3 separate regions of the Homo sapiens genome follow, and regions 2 and 3 are each linked to region 1. The links are contacts of gene promoters, found by promoter capture Hi-C in human tissues and cell types (Jung and others, 2019). All regions are on one chromosome and are shown on one strand. Each heading gives the region's core, a stretch centred on a gene start or on the middle of the fragment in contact. The rest is flanking DNA. Distances are from core to core; before and after follow the strand shown.

Region 1 (2,837 bases), core at 289-2,788:
CTCAGAGAAGCAGGTAGTGTGGGCAGGATGCAAAGTGTCCTGTCCATGGCTCTGGCTCTTCTTGCCGGGCCCTTCCTGTACCTTCAGGCCCCAGCACAAATCCCTGCCTGGGGGTTCCTCCTTCCCCCTCTGCTCATGCAGAAGCTGGGGTCTGACTGCAACCAGGGGCCCTCATCCTTAACTAGTAGCAAAAGGGATGGACTTGGGCTTCCAGACATGGATTCCTCTCTTCCTTCCCTCTGCTGAGCCTCAAGTCTTTACGCAGGCTTACCGTTTGCCAAGCACCCTTCTGGGCATATAACTGTGAACAAGCAAGCCCTTCCGATGTCTTGACCTATTCCAACCCCCACCTCCCGCCCCAGCCAGAAGTGCTGGCGCCCTCACTCTCAGACCCCAGGGGGCACAGGGCCTCGGGAGGGGTAAAGCCAGAGCTGAGTGATCTGGCCCAGTCAGAAGGCCGCCCAGGCTCTGGCCAGAGAAGCAAGGTTCCCAATCTGGCAGAAGCACCCTCCCTCCCGCCCCTCCCGTTTCCTGGGGCTGGGCCTGTTCCCTTCCCTAGGACCCTTGAAGTATTCGGGGGAGGGGCAGCTTGGCGATCTCCGGCTTCCTGGAGGAGAACGCCAGGCAGGCAAGCTGGGCGAACTGCAGGCAGCTGCGGCGGACTCCTACCCCCTCCCCAGAACTCTCTCCTCTGTGCGCACACATCTGGTGGGGGAAGGGAGGGTGAGCCAGGGACACACATGCACCCGGCACCCTTACATCACACACATAGCCACATCTAGCGCCCGTGACACACTCACCCGTCACATACCCCCCTGCCCCTGCACGCGCGCGCGCACACACACACACACACTCCGTCCTGCCGAGCCACTCTCCTCCCTGCATGGGTTCAAACCCAAGCTCTGTGAGCCCCCGGCCTCCCCTGTCTCTCTCTCTCTCTCTCTCTCTCTCTCACACACACACACACACACACACACACACACACACACGGCATGTACTGTACAGAGATGCACACCCCCTACACACATTCACACACACAGACATGCCACACACCGCCATCCCCCCACACTCGTACACGCCCACCACCCCTCGCAGGCACACATGCACACACGCGCGCGCACACGCACACACACCCCCAGCCCGGACCGGCCGACCTGCTCCCCGGGGTCTCTCCCGCAGGCAGGTCTCCTCGCCGAGCCTCCGAAAAGGGGCGGTCGTGGCGGCCCTGGCGCCCAGCTGGGCAACGCTTCGTGGTATCTCACCGCTTCTCTCTGTTGTGCCCAGCGCCCCGACTGAAGATCCGGACCTCCAGCCCCCGGCGGCCCCTCGCCTAGTCCAGAGACCGCAGCCTCGCCGCCCCGCTGCCCCTGAGCCGCCCCCGGCCCAGCCCCGGCCCGCAGCGCTCTCACCAGGCGGGCGGCCAGGCCCCGCGCTCCGCACTCCGCACTCCGCGCTCCCTCCCAGCGGCGCCGCCTCCTGGCTCCGAGCCTCGCTCCCCGGCGAAGCCGCCCGCGCCGGGGCTCCGCGGCAGCCGGCTCTGACGGCCCTCCCGTCCGCCCGCCCTCGCTCCCGCGCCCTCTCTCCTCCTCCTCCTCCTCCTCCTCCCACCCAGCCCGCCACCCGCGGTCCCCCCACACCCGGGCGGGCAGGCAGGCGCTCACAGCAGCGCGGAGCCGCGGCCACCTCGGTGCCGGGCGCCTCCACGCGCGCTCATTCACCCAGCGCTGTCAATCAGCCGCGGCGGGCGCCTCGCTGTGAGCCTGGCGAGAGCAATCACACACTCCCAGGGCGGCCCAGCACACACATCCACACGCGCGCCAGGAAACACACTCGCAGGTCAGAGGGCGCGCGCACACACGCGCACACATGGCAGCCTGCCCCAGGATGGCACCCCGGGCAATAAGAGTCCCACCGTTTGCTAAGTAGAAGTACAATGGACAATTCTACTTCCTTTATCTCATGAGTCCTCACCGCAACCCTGTGTATGTCGCCACTTTGCAGACAATTAAATGAAGACACAGAAAATTACCGAATTTGCCCAAGATTGCACAGCTTGGTAGAAACTCGAACCGTCTCCCTGCCGGCCCTCTCCACCACCTGGTGGTTTTCAACAGTTGCACTGCTACACAGCAGTGCCTCCAACACTTCACCGGTGAACTGCCAAATGCCAATCCCTGTGTGACATGTCTTTTCGCTAAAACTGATCTCTCAAAAATACTGTTTCAGAAATGTCTGCCAGAAAGAATGGTGAGCTAAGCTGCTTGTGAGAAGTGGATTACAACTGGTTTCTAGTAAGAGGTGTGAGGAGAACAGTAAAATCAAAGGCTGGGTTCAGTGGTTCACGCCTGTAATTCTAACACTTTGGGAGGCTGAGGCAGGCTGATCGCTTGAGCCCCGGGGTTCAAGAACAGCCTGGGCAACATAGCAAAAGATAAAATAAAAACAAACAAACAGCAAGCAAGCAAGCAAGCAAGCAAGAAAAAAAGAAGAAAGAAAGAAATTATCTGGGCGTGATGGGGTATGGTGGCAGACACCTGTAGTCCCAGCTATTTGGGAGGCTGAGACTGGAGGATTGCTTGAGCCTGGGAGGTGGAGGTTGCCGTGAGCTGTGATCATACCGCTACACTCCAGCCTGGGCAACAGAGCAAGACCCTGTCTCAAAAGGAAAAACAAAGAAAAAAGAGCGTGCCCCTTCACAGAAAGTAAGAGAGCTCAGGCAAAAGCTGACACAGGTTGAAGATGACCAAGAAAACCGAGCAGTCACTATGTATACTTCATGGAACCTGTTAAGTTGTAGTAGTGACTAACTGAAGTACTACTGACTCATTCATGTGGTT
Region 2 (2,700 bases), core at 180-2,679, 270 kb before region 1:
CTTGTCCTCTGGGATGATGGGCACTGCTATCCACAGTCTCTGCCAGTTGGTTTTATTTGGAGGTTTGTGGGCTTTTTTTAAAAAAAAAAAGTCCTCAAATCAGGAAGAAACATCAAAGACTATGTCCTAGTGGAGGGAGTAATCCTAACACCCAGGCTGGCCGCCAGCTGGCACCTGCCTCTATCCCAGACTGCCCTCGTCCCAGCTCTCTGTCCAACTGTTGATTATGTGATTTTTCTGATACGTCCATTCTCAAATGCCAGTGTGTTCACATCTTCGCTCTGGCCAGCCCATTCTGTATTTAAAGCTTTTGAGGCCCAATAAAATAGTACGTGCTGTCTGCAGCCCTTATTGATCACAGTGTGGTCCAGAGCATGGAGTCTTGGCAGCTTCACCCAGGAGGAGACCTGGACACTTGAATGACCCCCAAGATAGTCATCCAAATGCCTGGACATTCTCCCTAGAAATAGAGCCAGCTGGGGAAAGCAAGGCAGATCTTCAGAGTCTGAGCAAGCAACTCCTGGACCCAGTGGGCACCACTTGGCACCATGGCCATCATGCAGGAGGCTACAGGTCTTTTTTGACTTCTTGCACATGGCTGTTTTCAAGGACCTTAGAGAGTTACAGCAGCTTGGCCAGCAGCACCCAGGACAATTTACCCACTGTGAATTGCTGGGTCTGGCCTTAGGCAGACCCTGCCAGATCCCCAAGAAAGGATTCAAAAGGAATCAGCTGAGAGCAATGAGGTGATTTCCCTAATTCCTGCTGTGTCTGGGATAGAGTGGGTTAGAACGCAGGCCCCCTGGTTCCTCTCCGGAGAACAGAGCTAGGAGGGCCGGCTTCTCCAAGAGGGACCCAGGTCCCAGGTGAGAGGCCTGTCTGCTCCAGGTTAGCCATTGCTCATGTCTGACTTGATAAGCTCTCCCCAAAAGTCCTCAGGTAGAACTGGCCCTGGAGCTCAGAATCCTCAGGCTGCGTGTAGCCCATGAGGGAGGAGCCATGGTGGTGTGAGGCCAGGAGTCCCGGGGAGAGAAAGTCAAGTGTGAGAGTCACCACTCCCCACACCCATGGTGTCCAGCGCCTCATTATTCCTCCACTGACGGCATTACCTGTGTGCCCCCGCCCCTCCCTGGCACATACTTTGGTGAAACTTGGTGGCACGTCTTTCTGACAGCCCCACATCCCACCAACATTCTGATCTGGGGTGATGCTCCAAGCTGCCATATAAAATTGACCCTTTGATCTTGGGGGCTACAGGGACAGTCAGTGGAGGTGGTAGGGCCTGGCTGGCTGGATCTCATTCCTCAGCTGGAGGTCCTGCCGTAACACACACTTGTTCTGGCCAGGGCTCTTACGGGGTTCTCATGTGTGCTGCTTATACTCAAGGTGCGCTATAGTTAGGTGAGGGTAGGAAGAGCCAGGGAGGGGCCATGGGGAGAAATGTTGAGTCAGTTCAACTCCAGAAACACTAGTTTCCCTTGGTCCTCGTGGGGACTCACAGTTTCTACTTGCAGCGCCTCCGGCTTAGCCAGAACAAGCGCTTACACTGTCTGAATCAGACCCTTTATGGTCCAGTAAACTGTGCTTCCCTTGACTACATGCAGCCCCTTAGGGGGCCCAGGAAGTCAGGAGGGGTGTGGATGATGACTTGGTGTGAATCTCTTCATCATCCCCACTCCTGGAGAAGCTGTCCTGCCCCCAGCAGAGAAGCACACTCTCACCATGGTCTCTGATTTTATTTTTATCCATCAAGAAGAGAATGCCCATCTCACTTATTTCTTGACCTCCAAGGTGCTTCTGGTAGGGTGCGATGTGTATTCACAGTGAACACAATCGGCAGAGGGCAAGATGCCAGCCCACTCTTTTGTGAAAGGGTCTGAAATCATCTCACGGTCTTCACAGTTGCCTTGGTTACATCTGCACCCAAGGATAAACCCTCCTTAGTTTTCCAATTGAAATTATGCCTGAGCCTTCCCACTTCTGAGTTTTTTCTCTGCCAAGGCTGGTTGAGACAAAGGTCAGATCAGTCACCAGGCAGGAAGGCGCTACCGCAGCTTGTCTGGTTTTGACCCCAACTTGGTGTTTCTCTCGGTATCACATCTGCCAAGTTCCTGAGGTGTGACCTGGATAGGGCTGGGACCAGGGTGAGGCAAGCCACGCGCCAAGGGTGCAGATTTGAAGGAGGCACTCACAGAGTGCGCACACATTGGCATGTTCTATTTTCATCTGTAGCTGTCCACTCAGCACCAGCCCTTGCACCAGTAGCCAGAAAAAGCTCTCCACAGGTTCCTCCCACTCCCCCTGAGTTATAAAAATTGCACCTTGGCCTCAGGATTGTGGGTTCTGCTTCTCCATCCACCTTTCCTGTTGAATAGTGAAGTCTCTTGAGCACCTGTTATCCATCCATTTAGGCTTCCTCCAAGCAGGGATTAAGACCCAGATAGTGCCAAGCACAGTGTTGGGTCCAGTGAGTGCCAAGGTCATCTCTCTGGGCTCTCGAGGAGGCAGCAGATGCATGCTATCTATAACAAGCCACAGCAGTGGGTGGTGCCCTGGGACTTTAAGGGACAGAGGCCCTGGCCCAGGTGGCTGGGAAGTTTCCCAGAGGAAAGGAGAAGAGCTGGGGCTAGCAGATGGTGGGAAGGCATCGCTTATCTCTGGGCAGCTTGAGGAGTCTCCTGGTCTCCGAGGGTGGATGCA
Region 3 (2,751 bases), core at 59-2,558, 480 kb before region 1:
AGTCATGAAAATGTGCCTCCTGGATCTCCAACTGCAGGAAACATAATAGACTGACAGCCCAGCTGCTGTGCTTTGAAATCAATCACTGCTACTTCAGCCAAGGCTATGCTTCCCACCAGCTGCTCCCAGCCAATAGCGGAGCGCAACAGAGATACTAAGGCAGGCCTATTGCTGAGGGACATAGGGTTCCTCTGACGGACAATTTTGACTTCTTATCAAGCTTTGACGAAACTCTTTGGAACAGGCCCGTAGCTCAGATGTTCCCTATCTAACCTTCCTTCATTCCCTCCATTCTGCACAGGGGTTTGACCTGCACTGCAGTCTGTTGGCTCTTCCCAGGCCTCCTGGGGTTCCCTTCCCACCTTCCTTGAGATGAGTTTTCTCCAATTAATCTCTTGCACATCTAATCCTTCTTGGCACGTGCCTCTTATAGAACCTGAACCAACATACCATGAGTTCACACAAATACCTAAAATTCCAATCCACTGCTACAGGGTTCATTCTAGTTTTCTTCCTTTCCATATTTGTATATACCTACTCTGACAGTGAGAAACCTGGCTTATCCTTAGTACTTTCACTGGTAGGGTTGATATTCCTTAGTGTAACCAATCTTGTAACACTGATGTCACCCCTCCCAAGTGGACACTCAGTCTTTAATGCCTGGCTATGGAGCCACCTTCCATGTGGATGTTTGCACCCAGGTTGAACTCTGATACCTTGTATGAGTGATCATCCTTACCTTCCTATGGGGCTCTGACACCCCAAGCCAGACTAGCCTATACTTTGTGCAAAATACTGTGCTTGGAACTGGGATATAGAGCAAGAAAAGCATGGCCCCTGCCCTCACAGTGTTTATCACTCACCAAGGAAGATAAACAATGAATGAATAATTGCCATATATTGTGATGGTGTATCACATGGGGAACCCACCAAGAAGAGAACACATGTGATTCTCATATGCATTGCACGTAGTGAATGCCCAATGGTGATGGTTGTTATCATTTCATGTATTTTTACTCTTGTTACCGCTAAGCACCAGCATCACAACTGTTCCTCCAGGAGAAATCTATAATTAGGGGATAAGAAGCTAAGAGAACATGGCTTAGATGCTGAGCTTTAAAGGAAAGAGAGAAGAAAGTTAGTGGGCAGGGTGTGGAGTGATTTGGGAATCTAAGGCCTCAGGAACTCCATATGGCAGGTCTTAACTGGTTTGTAGACATTTGCTGATAGGATAAAGAGGGCAGGGACAAGGAAGAGTAGAGAAAGTGCCCTTGGTTTTTCCCGGCCAGGCAGGTACTCAGTAATTCTGTGTATTGATTTGAGCAGCATTAACTGGGGTGGATCATTAAACATTTGTGTTGTTTTTCTTTATATATCAAAGCTTGTTTGTGTGAATTTTTCCTTGCCTGCTCTGCCATTCCCACTTTCTCCTCCAAACCCCATGTATTTACTGTAAAATGTCAATGCTCAGTAATTCAAAATGCAGTAACAAATATTTCTTTGTTTTCTTGGCATTTAAAACAGCCAGGACATCTCAAACTATCAAAAGTGGAGTTGTCCCCCATGCCACTCCCCAGCCTTCTTACTAGCTCTTTGATGGGTGGAGCCTCTCTTGTTCCCTGCTAGGGCCCCTTAGTGACAACCTTAGTTTAAATCCTCACCATGTATCAACATCTACATCTGCTGATTTGAGGCTGTTGCCTTCTCCATGCTGCCAAACACAACTCTGTGATAATGACAGCATTTGCCAGCACGCTTATGTGGTGACTCAGGAGACAGGGTGGCCAGCAAAGCAGCCTCTTTGTGGGAGTGGATTTTGAGAAGTGCTAATTCCGTGGCAGTTTGGAGATATTAATACCGTGCTGGCAGTAGATAAACAGACATCCGAGGGGCATATAATGAGAAGATAATCAGCCACTGCATCTTTTCCTCCTTGCTCTACCAACACATTTATTTTTTCTTCTTTAAAAAAAAAAAAGCATGTTCTCCTGGGTTTTGACGAATAGAGCCCTTAAATTGCGTAAACATGCACAGATACTGGTTGGTTCAGCTCCCAGCATCCCCACAGTATAACTTTCTAAGAACCACTGGTGTGTTAGGAGTTAACCACATTTTCAAACAATACTCAGTCATAGCATATGGCACGGTAGCCTATTGCTTACCATAGCCTCTCCCTAAAGGGCAGCAAACCAGATGGTTTGAGTAGGGCCTTTGGTGTAATTATGACAGACACAAAGAAAGACATAACCACCATTCTCCCTCAATAATATCATGCTTCTTGTTTTCCAGTATTTGCTATAGTTAATTATACTTAATTTTTGAAAATTTGTTTTTGCAGTTTGATTGTTCATAACAAAGTTCCCTTTCCAGGTTGGGGAGGAACCATTCAAATATGTATCATTAAGTGTCTGCATATCATTTCCCATTCATCCTTCTCTAGCTAGTAGATGCAGGCCACATAGAGTGGCATCTCTCATTCCCAAGTGTGAGCAATTTTCTTATTCTGGCAAAAAAAAAAAAAAAAAAAGATTTGTTGCATTTGAGAATTACTTTGCATTAGAGTCTAACCTGAGATTTTTTGTAGCTCCCATGGAGTATTGCTCCAAAACTGGTCATCTCAGATTTTATATTGTTTACTTTCTTTGTTCCCCATCTTGATTTGCTTTTTTCTTTCTTTTTTGAGATAGGGCCTCATTCTTTTACCCATGCTGCAGTGTAGTGGTGTGATCACAGCTCACAGCAACCTCAAAC

What was found. The method cuts DNA at HindIII sites, captures the fragments that hold promoters and counts their contacts. A contact is called where the count stands out against the background at its distance.
Region 2: a contact is called between a fragment that was not itself captured here and the fragment with the promoter of PRRT4 in region 1, in 1 of the 25 tissues and cell types used here (spleen).
Region 3: a fragment that was not itself captured here is called in contact with the fragment with the promoter of PRRT4 in region 1 in 1 of the 25 tissues and cell types used here (spleen).

What each region holds. Positions count from the first base shown.
Region 1 is chr7:128,360,152-128,362,988 of GRCh38, forward strand. PRRT4 (proline rich transmembrane protein 4) reads right to left here and starts at 1,539. Exons shown (of 6, transcript NM_001174164.2): 1 at 1,410-1,539; 2 at 1,155-1,271. RefSeq lists enhancers at 1-605, 606-1,474. The HindIII fragment of the contact is 21,921 bases long and covers 1-2,837 here.
Region 2 is chr7:128,092,250-128,094,949 of GRCh38, forward strand. It overlaps SND1 (staphylococcal nuclease and tudor domain containing 1), which reads left to right. Exons shown (of 24, transcript NM_014390.4): 24 at 1-344. Among named protein-coding and RNA genes, the nearest start is that of MIR593, 12 kb to the left of the region's middle. The HindIII fragment of the contact is 7,467 bases long and covers 1-2,700 here.
Region 3 is chr7:127,884,342-127,887,092 of GRCh38, forward strand. All of the region lies in intron 12 of SND1 (staphylococcal nuclease and tudor domain containing 1), which reads left to right. Among named protein-coding and RNA genes, the nearest start is that of SND1-IT1, 110 kb to the right of the region's middle. The HindIII fragment of the contact is 6,564 bases long and covers 1-2,751 here.